Linked DNA regions of Homo sapiens: region 2 is linked to region 1. Evidence: promoter capture Hi-C in human tissues and cell types (Jung and others, 2019). All regions are on one chromosome and are shown on one strand. The core of a region is centred on a gene start or on the middle of the fragment in contact, and the rest is flanking DNA. Distances in the headings are between cores, read along the strand shown. Region 1 holds the start of CYTH2 (cytohesin 2). Region 2 overlaps NAPA (NSF attachment protein alpha).

Region 1 (4,904 bases), core at 2,400-4,899:
CTCTCAAATGATCCCCATGCTCCCCAGGTATCCAGACACAGCCCCCACATCCCCCAGACATCCAGAGATGCTTCCCAAGCACCCCAGATCTCTATAAATCCCTGATTCCCAGACGTCCACAGATGGCCTCCAATCATCTGATGTCCAGTCCTGTGCACCCTAGGCTTCCAAATGACCCCCACAACTCCTAAGCTCCCACAAGGGCCCAGCGGTCCCCACAGCTCCCAGATGGCCACCCAGTGCCTATGCACAGCCATGGTCTACCCACGGTTCTCAAGCTCCCATGATCCTTGAGAGATGTTCTCTACCCTTCTCAGACATAAATGGATGCTTCCCCACAACTGCCAGGTAATTCCAGAAGGCCCCACATCCCCAGATGCTCTCGGTTGGCCGCAGGCTCCCCTAGCCCATGTCAGTCCATTCTGTCACAGTCCAGTCAGAAGGCTGATCTGCCAGGGCCCCTCTGCGGGGAGGCTGCAGGGCTGTTCCACCTGTGAGCTGCCAGTGTGAGGGCAGGAGCTGGGTCTGGGGGGTGGGAGGGAGGGGCCCCACAGGAGCTGAGTGGTGACCGTACCTCTCCCCCAGGTAGTCCCCGATGGCTGTCTTGTTCAGCCCCTCGCCCTTGTACAGGAAGCGGGCGATCTCCTCGGGTGTGTTCTGCAGCAGTTCATTCTCCACCAAGAACTGGATCCCCTGGTGGGTGGGGACAAGGTCTCAGTGCTGAGGGCCAGAAAGCCACCCCACTCACCTCCCTGGGAACCTCAGCATCCAGACCTACCCCCACCCTCAACAGACCAGGGCCAGGTTTCATTTTCAGCCTTCTCACAGGTCTTAAATAGCATTCTTCCCAACTCATGGCCTTTGCACTTCATGGCCTACCCTCTCTGCCTTTGCCTGGTTAATTCCAGCACCAACAACAGGGTCTGGCAAGGCACAGGTGCTCAGTACATTTTCTCTTTTTTCTGAGACCTGGTCTCGCTCTATTGCAGACTGGAGTGCAGTGGCGTGATCACAGCTCATTGCAGCTTCGAACTGCTGGGCTCAAGGGATCCTCTCACTTCGGCCTCCTCAGAAGCTGGGACTATAGGCATGCCCCAACACACCTGGCTAATTTATTTATTTATATTTTTTCTAGAGATGAGTTATCACTATGCTGCCCAGGCTGGTCTCAAATTCCTGGCTTCAAGCAATCCTCCCTCCTCGGCCTCTCAAAGCACTGGGATTACAGGCATAAGCCACCGAACCCAGCCAATCAATGTTTGTTGAATGACTGAACAGAATTCCAATTGCTTCAGGAAAGAATAACGTGACAACCTGTTAGCAGACGCAGTCCTTCAAGGGCTGTGAACTCGAAGCCCTGGCTAGACTGGAGGTTTCTCTCACTCTCTGTGCTACGAAGACCTCTCTACTACTGCTTTATCTCACTGTGAACTGTGGTATCGGTGTCCAAGGGCTCTCTGAGCACAAGGCAGCATCTAATTCTTCTTTGGGTCCCCAGCATTGCCCTACACAGGATCAGACTCTTGAGAGGCCTCAGAAAATGGGTGTTAAATGAGTATGTGAACAGGCCAGGCACGGTGGCTCATGCCTGTAATCCCAACACTTTGGGAGGCTGAGGCGGGCGGATCACCTGACGTCAGGAGTTTGGAAGCAGCCTGGCCAACATGGTGAAACCCCATCTGTACTAAAAATACAAAAATTAGCTGGGCATGGTGGTGGGAGCCTGTAAGCCCAGCTACTTGGGAGGCTGAGGCAGGAGAATCGCAGGAGGCGGAGGTTAGTGAGCCGAGATCACATCGCTGCACTCCAGCCTGGGTGATAGAGCAAGACTCTGTCTCACACACACACACAAAGAGTAGGTGAACAAAAGCCTTTCCTCCACCTGGTGAACACCTACTCATCCTTCAAACCCGACCTGAATGTCTCCTCCTCAAGGAAGCCCTCCCTGACTCCACCAGCCTGCCTCCTCCAGAGGTCCACTACCCTGATACCTTCCTCCGTCACGGCACCTTTGTGGGAGAGAGGTCAACTCTCCTTTGTGCATGTCACTTTGTCCACAGCCCCTACAAGACTCGAGCTCATCTTGGGACCAGAAATGCGCCCATACAAGTAGAAAGTGGAAGACGACCTTCCAGGCAGGGGACAAAACAGTCAGGAGGGCTGGAACACTTGGTCAGTGTTCAGTGTTCAGAAAACAAATGGACAGCCAGTATCTGAATCCAGGGATTAGGACCAAGTCTGTCCACCTAGAATAGACCCGGCACCATCACGCTTCTGGAACCCGGAGGTGCCAGAAGCCCCTGCCTGGATGTTTGCCCAGCTGATCCCAGTCCTGTGGCCCCAAGCACCTTCTTGGGGTCCATGTTGAACTTCTTCCTGCCCATTGCCATCTTCCGGTTCCGTTGCAAGGTCTTACTGCAGGAGCAGAGAGCAGGGTTGGGGGTGGAGGGTCAATGCCTGGGCATCCCTGGCCTCAGCCAACCCCACGCCCCCTAGGTCATCCGCCCCAGCCCTCACCTGCCCTCATTGGCCTCCAGCCCCTCCACCTCGCTCATGGCTTCACTGAGCTCCTCCCGCAGGCGCTGAATCTCCACCAGCAGCTCCTGCTTCCGCCGCCGGATGTTCTCCAGCTCCATCCGCTCCTCCGGAGTCAGGTCTGGGGGTTCTAGGGATCGGGGTCAAGGTTTAAAAGTCAGTGCTAGGGGCCGTGAGCCTGAATTCCTGCAATCTGGGGGCGGACAGAGCTGGGAGAGGATGTGTAAGGGGCTTCCTATGTCTGCACAGAAGAATGGGCTGGGGGCCTGGATTCCTCCCTGCAGAGGAGAAAGAGCTGGGGCTCTAAACTCTTGAGTCCTGGGGGACAAGGGGAATTGGGGCCCGGATTCCTGAGTCTGAGGGAGAAGGGGAATGGGTGCCTGAGCTCTTAGATCTGAGGGAAGAAAGGGCTGGGGGCCTCGGCTTCTAGGTCCATTACTTGGAAGGGGACTGAGGCCTTGGTTTTCTGACTCCATTACTGGCGAGGTAGCTGGGGACCTGGTTATCCGGACTACTGGGTCCATGAAAAGTCACTACAGCCGGGGGAACTGATGACAGCTCAGGAGAGTTGGGAAGGTGGGGCGGGACATCGAAGGCCCCCGCCCCCCAAGATTTCTCCCCTCCCCGCAACCCAAGCGCCCCTCCCCGGCCCCGGCAGGCGCTGGGCTCGCCCGCCCCTCCAGCGGGAATGGTTCCGCCCCGGCCTCGCCTCCACCACTCCATCCCGCCCCTCCCGCCGCCACCGGAAACAGGCTCAGCCCAAACAATGGCCTGGAACGCCCGGCTTTCGGGCCCCGCCGGAAGCCCGTCCAGCGCCCAACAAAAGCGGCGCGACAAGTCTACGACTGAGCCGAACGCTTCTGGGCGCCGCGCGCCAGGGGGAAACGTTCGCGGCGGAACGTTCAGGAGAAAACGCTCCAGCAACTCCCAGCCGACCCCGCCCCTCCCCGACCTACCATAGACGCCGTCCTCCATGGCGGCTAGGAAGGCCCGCGGGGAATCCGGGGCGGTCCCGCCAGTCGGGCCTGGATCCGCGTTGGCCCGCGGGCTCGGGTGAGCCCGCTCAAACGCCCCGGGAGCCACCGCCGCCTCCTCAGCGCCAGTCCTCAGCGCTGAAAAGACTCTTCCCTTCGTCGCCCAACCGCCCCTTCAGTAGGGACCGCCCCTCTTTTTGACACTGTCCAATCCACAGTGGGCGCTTTCGTCCTCCCCGCCCTCGCCACCAAAGGATCGTTCTCCAGGGCCAACAGTCGTACAAAAAGCCGGTGTAGGTATGTCCGGCCAGAGGTAGACGGCCCGCGGGGCCAATCGGAGTGCAGGCAGGGCAGCAGGCCCCGCCTCCGAAACAACAGAAAGCACTTGACAGGCTTGCTCTCCAATGAGAAGCCCCGGAAAAGTGTCGCGCGGAGGCGGAGCCACGCGGTACAGCCACCTCTGCGCCTGCTCAAAGGCCCTGGACACTTGGAGTCTAGGTAAACCGAGCCCCGCCTCCGATAATACGTTGCTAGGGGGCGGTACTTTGTTAGTCTTGTTGCTAGGAGGCGGGGCTAGAACTGGCTTGTTTCCGTAAGCCACACCTCCTAGCAGGCCATGCTGGCTTCTGACCGCAAAGGTTGCCATGCAACCGGGAGCGGCTTTAGGCCTCCTTTTCTTTTGCATTTCTTCTCCGCGTATTTCCCCTCCTCTCAGCCCCTTCTTACCGCCGAACTCCTTCTTTATCACCATCTATGCCCTCCCCATCCCCCTCAGCCTCTTCGGAGTCGTGGAGTGGTGAAACAAAAGACTTCTTCGTTTTTTCTTTTTTTTTTTTTTTTGAGACAGAGTCTTGCTCTGTCGCCCAAGCTGGAGTGCAGTTGCGCGATCTCGGTTCACTGCAACCTCCGCCTCCCGGGTTCAAGCAATTCTCCTGCCTCAGCCTCCCGAGTAGCTGGGATTACAGGGTTGCACCATGATGGTGCATGCCTGGCTATTTTTTGTATTTTTAATAGAGACGGGCGTTTCACCATGTTGGCCAAGCTGGTCTCGAACTCCTGACCTCATGATCCGCCCACCTTGGCCCTCCAAAGTGCTGGGGTTACAGGCGTGAGCCACCGCGCCTGGCCAAGATTTACTTTTTTCTAAATGCTATGCTATTTGGTATCGGTCATGGGGAATGGAACAGGGGAAGGTGAAATTTAGTGAAAGCACAGGCTCGGCCTTCCTGGCACCTTCTGCCGCTCAGACTCCTCCCTCATTTCTCCAAACTCCTTCCTTTAGCTTAGCATCCTCCTAAGACTCCTCCCTTCCCCAAGCATCCTCCTGCTAAGACAACTCCCCTTTCCTCAGCATCCTCCCACCTCTCTGATTCCTTCTCCCATCTCAGAGGCCTT
Region 2 (4,838 bases), core at 1,978-4,477, 970 kb after region 1:
CGAGTGGACCACTTGAGGTCAGGAGTTCGAGACCAGCCTGGCCAACGTGGTGAAACCCTGTCTCTACTAATAATACAAAAATTAGTAGGGTGTGATGGCACACATCTGTAATCCCAGCTACTCAGGAGGCTGAGGCAGGAGAATTGCTTGAACCCGGGAGTTGGAGGTTGCAGTAAGCTGAGATCGTGCCACTGTACTCCAGCCTGGGCGACAAGAGCGAAACTCCATCTCAAAAAAAAAAAAAAAAAAAAGAAGTCACTCCAAACAAGGCCCAAGGTGTGTTGGGCTGGCTGAGGTGAGGTGGGTGAGGGAAGACAGAGTGCAGCAGGGCGAGTGCGGGAAGAACACATTGCTCAGGGCCACTTCCCAGGGACAGCAGAGGGTGGGGGACAGCATCAGCACAGCCCCAGAAGGCAGAGGGTAGGCTTTTCATCTGGCAAGATGACAGAGAGGATAGGAATAAATAGATTATTTACCTGGTGTGATGTGGATTCAGGAGGCCAGGATCCCTGGCCCAACCAGCCCGCCCACCGTGGGGGCATTTATTTGCCTGCTGACATTGCCAGGCCTGGCCGCTGATCTGATCGCTGGTGGCTGCTTTCCAGGTAGTCGGTCTCAGTCAATTTTTCCTTCTCAAACTCACCTGATCAGCTGAATTACCTGGGCCCCCCAAACCCCAATTGTTAAAAATCTCATTTGCAGGCCCCATCCAGACCCTACTGAGCGAATCCCAAAGTGTGTGGCTGTGGGACTCTGGTTTGATGAAATGAGCACTTCATGTGGCTGAAAGGGATGGGCAGGTTGGACACACTGAATCCGCAGTGCAGAGGGAAGGAATGCTCACATCCCAGCTCCCAAAATTACCTTTGAGCCCCTCCACAGCTGGGGTTGGTGTGGACAAGTTCCCAGGTATAATGTTGGGCCAGTTGACACAGGGTGTGGGATGGGATGGTGAGGATGATTTGAATGGGAAAGTACCCACTCCTCCCTTTTCTCTTCCTTAAAAATAAACTAAACACTAGTTATGCCAGTGAAGAGAGGCCCTGAAATCCATTTGGTGGGACTCCAGAGTGTGTGGATTTTATTCTACTGATTATGTAGATATTGGGAGTTTGAGCAGTTACAGAGACTACAGACCTCGCGGGCTAAGCCTGGTTGTATTATTAAGGGCAGAAGAATGCAGTGGGACTTACGGGTTTGAGGTACTAATGAGGTCCCCCAAGTCAAGAGGAGGCTCATTATGTACATGTGGAGGTCAAGAAGCCAGAGTGAAGCTGCCCAAACAGGGTACCCTTTATGTTTTCAAATTCCTGTCTATCTCCCAGTGTATCCCTACTGTTGGACAATAAGTTTTTGGGGGGTTTTGCTGTTTTAAATAATGCTATGCTGAACATCCTTGTAACTTTTCTGATTAGTTTTTTTAGGATAAATTGCTAGAGATGTAATTCATTGCTGGACCACAGGGCCAAATATAAATCCTAATACTTAAAAATATGTGTGTGTGTGTGTCTGTGTATGTGTAAATGTATAGATATATACACACATATATACACATACACATATATACACATGTGTATATATGTACACGTGTGTGTATATATGTATATATTTTTTTTCTCGAAAAGATGTACAAACAGTTAAAAAAAAATTCAGACAGTACAAATACGGGATGTCCAGTGAATAAGTCTGCCTCCCACACCTGGCCCTCCTTCTGCAGGCTTCACCTTAAGAGAAAAATGCTGTTACTAGGTTTTTGTGTATTTGCCCAGAAATATCCTATGTTTATATAAACATGTATGTTTCTATTATTTTCACTCTCTTTCTCTTTTTTTTTTTTTTTTTTTTTTTGAGACAAGGTCTGGCTCTGTCGTCGTCCAGGCTGGAGTTCAATGGTGTGATCTTGGCTTACTGCAACCTCTGCCTCCCAGGCTCAAGTGATCCTCCCACATCAGCCTCTCTAGTAGCTAGGACTACAGGCGTGCACCATCACACCCTGCTAATTTTTTGTATTTTTTGTAGAGTTGGGGTTTTGCCGTGTGGCCCAGGCTGGTCTCGAACTCTTGAGCTCAAGCAATCCGCCAACCTTGGCCTCCCAAAGTGTTGGGATTACAGGAGCCATGAACCACCACACCCAGCCCACCCTCTTTTTTTTTTAAACACAAATGGGAACATCTTATATCTACACTTTAAAATAGTGCTTCCCATTTCTTTGTATGGCTGTGTGATATATATGCCCAGTCCTGAGCTGGTAATGACACACTCCAGGGCTGCAAGGTCTTTATTGAGCAACCACAGAGTGCAAGGCACAGGATTAAGGCTGCCTCTGCGAAAGCAACACGATGTCTTAAACTGGGCTAGTCCCCCAGAATGCTTTGCAGTCTCCCGGGGAAAGGGGATTTGTAGCGCGCCTGGGACCCAGTGGGCCCCTAGTATCCCAGGCAGGAAGTAGAAGAGGCTGTCAGACCCTGGGGTTGTGGTGGGGTCAGGAACTCTTCGCCCCACTACCCCAGCAAGCACCCAGTATCTACCCCAGTACTCCCGGAGGGAGCTGGTCTGCCCGAAGTGAGTGTGCCATTGTATGCAGGGGCGGGGGCCACAGACTCAAGAGGCCTGGGGGAAGCTGGCTTCACAGGTGAAGGGTGAGGGGTAGGGGCACGTCTGTGCCCGGCACTGGAGCAGAATGCTTGCTTTCTCCTGGATAGCCGACTAGATTGTCTCCTTTTTTTCTTTCCTTTTTCCCCAGAGGCTCATCCAAAATAGAGGAAGCATGCGAAATCTACGCCAGAGCAGCAAACATGTTCAAAATGGCCAAAAACTGGAGTGGTATGTCATCTCCGCTAGAGCTCCTCCAAGGTGCTCTCCTCCTCCCTCAGCTTCCACTCACACAGGCCTGCCCGAGAGGTTGGCCTTGAGGGCCCTTTCTCTTTGTATGCCCTCTCCGGCATCGGAAAGCCACTGGCCTGCTCTCTTGTTTTGTGCCTGCTGGGTTACTTTATACTCTGGGTCATGGGGCCTTGGTGAAAGGACAGAGAGGATGGGAATAAATAGATTATTAGACCTAGATAAACCCATGTGGATTGATGAGCTCTTAGAGTCCTCCTTAAATTCAGAACTTCAGGTTTCCTGGTAACTTCCTTAGTGCTTCCATCAGTGTCTAAATTCTAGGCTGGGGGAGGATGTTCAGGTGATTCCAATAACAACGTGAATCATGGCTGCTGTTTGTTGAGTCCTAAGTGCTCATCATTTAATTGCGTTAGCACAGCAGCCCTAAGGGTCAGTCTATAAATATCCCTATTTTACAGATTTGGAAACTGAGGCTTGGCTTAGTCTCTTGCCCAGGATGCCAGAACTAGTAAGTGACAGAACCAAGATTCAGAAACCAAGGCTCTGACTGCAGAGCCTGAGTGTTTAACCTGCCCCAGTGAGGCAGGATAGCTTCACAGAGGAGAGGGGTGGGGAGGAGCCCCTTGGGCTCAGGGAGGCTGGAGATCTGTTTGGAGCTCCCTGCAGGCCCAAGAAGTCCAACAAGCCAGTGTGTTGAGCCCTTTCGAGGCTCATTTCATCATACATCTTTCATGTCACCAAGATTGAATTAAGGAAATACGGCAAGAGACCCAGTGTTTGAATGCAGGGAGGAACTTCTGACTGTGGAGGAGAGGGAACCTGGTGGTGGGACCATGGAGGCAGGGTGCAGAGGTGCACAATAAAATTGATTATCATCGTTTTTGAGAATGTTGTTGGTTTCCCCAAAATTCAAAGAGTTATTCCTGAGTTTTCACAAAATACGTTGTGAATAAAGCCAAATGTTTTTTGTATTTTTATGCTCCCAAACTTAGAAAATTCCTCTAGAGAAAAAAAGCTTATTTTTTAATTACATAGGTGTTGCTTTTCCCCTAAAATTTGTTACCTCTGCCCCCAAACTCTTCAAAGAAAAGCCCTAGGCCATTTCCCCCCGGTAATATCCCCTTTTCTTGAAATTTTTTTTTTTTTTTTTTTTTTTTTTTTTTTGAGACAGTCTTGCTCTGTTGCCAGGCTGGAGTGCAGTGGCGCGATCTTGGCTCACTGCAACCTCCGCCTCCCTGGTTCAAGTGATTCTCCTGCCTCAGCCTCTTGACTAGCTGGGATTACAGGCACGTGCCACTACGCCCAGCTTATTTTTGTATTTTTAGTAGAGACAGAGTTTTACCATGTTGTCCAGGATGGTCTCCATCTCCTGATCTCGTGATCCGCCCACCTCGGCCTCCCAAAGTGCTGGGATTACAGGCATGAGCCACCGCGCCTGGCCGTAATTTTATACTCAAATTTGGAACTCTTGAAAATAATGAAATCATATAGTGAAAACCCGGAAGGCTTTGTCTTTTCTGCTGCTCAAAACTTAAGAGGATAGGGCCAGGCCTCCTGGTCCTCTTCCAGCTTAGAAACTCTGACTCAGATTCAGCTGGAGGAGAATGAAGGGGAGAAGCCTCAGAGCTGAGCTGGAGGTGGTCAGCTGCACGAGGAGGAGGAGAGATGCTGCTGCCTCCCAAACGTCAGTTAGGAGATGTGTGGGCAGAATGGCTTGGGACCCACAGAAGCTGACCGTGTGCAGATGAGCACAGGATGGATGAGGCTTCAGGCACGGTCTCTTCTGCCCTCCGCCCATGGGCACTGGTCTGCATGTATTCATTCTTGCTGTCCACATCCTGTTTCCCTCTCTGGACATGCAGCTCCTGGAGGGAGCCGGCTCTGTGTTGTCCGACCCCAACTCCATGAGCCTCACAATTCATGCAAGTGCCTTGTCCATGGGGATCTGCAGTGAAGGGAACAGAATGTGAACAGAGGCAGAGGAGTTGGGAGAA

Evidence for each region. The method cuts DNA at HindIII sites, captures the fragments that hold promoters and counts their contacts. A contact is called where the count stands out against the background at its distance.
Region 2: a fragment that was not itself captured here is called in contact with the fragment with the promoter of CYTH2 in region 1 in 1 of the 25 tissues and cell types used here (heart right ventricle).

Annotation. Positions count from the first base shown.
Region 1 is chr19:48,468,114-48,473,017 of GRCh38, reverse strand. CYTH2 (cytohesin 2) reads right to left here and starts at 3,649. Exons shown (of 12, transcript NM_004228.7): 1 at 3,492-3,649; 2 at 2,518-2,665; 3 at 2,349-2,415; 4 at 575-693. The coding sequence starts at 3,510. LOC105372430 (a long non-coding RNA gene) reads left to right here and starts at 3,485. Exons shown (of 3, transcript NR_186576.1): 1 at 3,485-4,007. RefSeq lists a silencer at 3,444-3,633 and enhancers at 2,997-3,990, 4,184-4,343, 4,048-4,548. The HindIII fragment of the contact is 6,294 bases long and covers 1,760-4,904 here.
Region 2 is chr19:47,501,408-47,506,245 of GRCh38, reverse strand. It overlaps NAPA (NSF attachment protein alpha), which reads left to right. Exons shown (of 11, transcript NM_003827.4): 2 at 2,744-2,823. It overlaps NAPA-AS1 (NAPA antisense RNA 1), which reads right to left. Exons shown (of 4, transcript NR_038452.1): 4 at 4,649-4,789. Among named protein-coding and RNA genes, the nearest start is that of NAPA, 11 kb to the left of the region's middle. The HindIII fragment of the contact is 4,210 bases long and covers 1,123-4,838 here.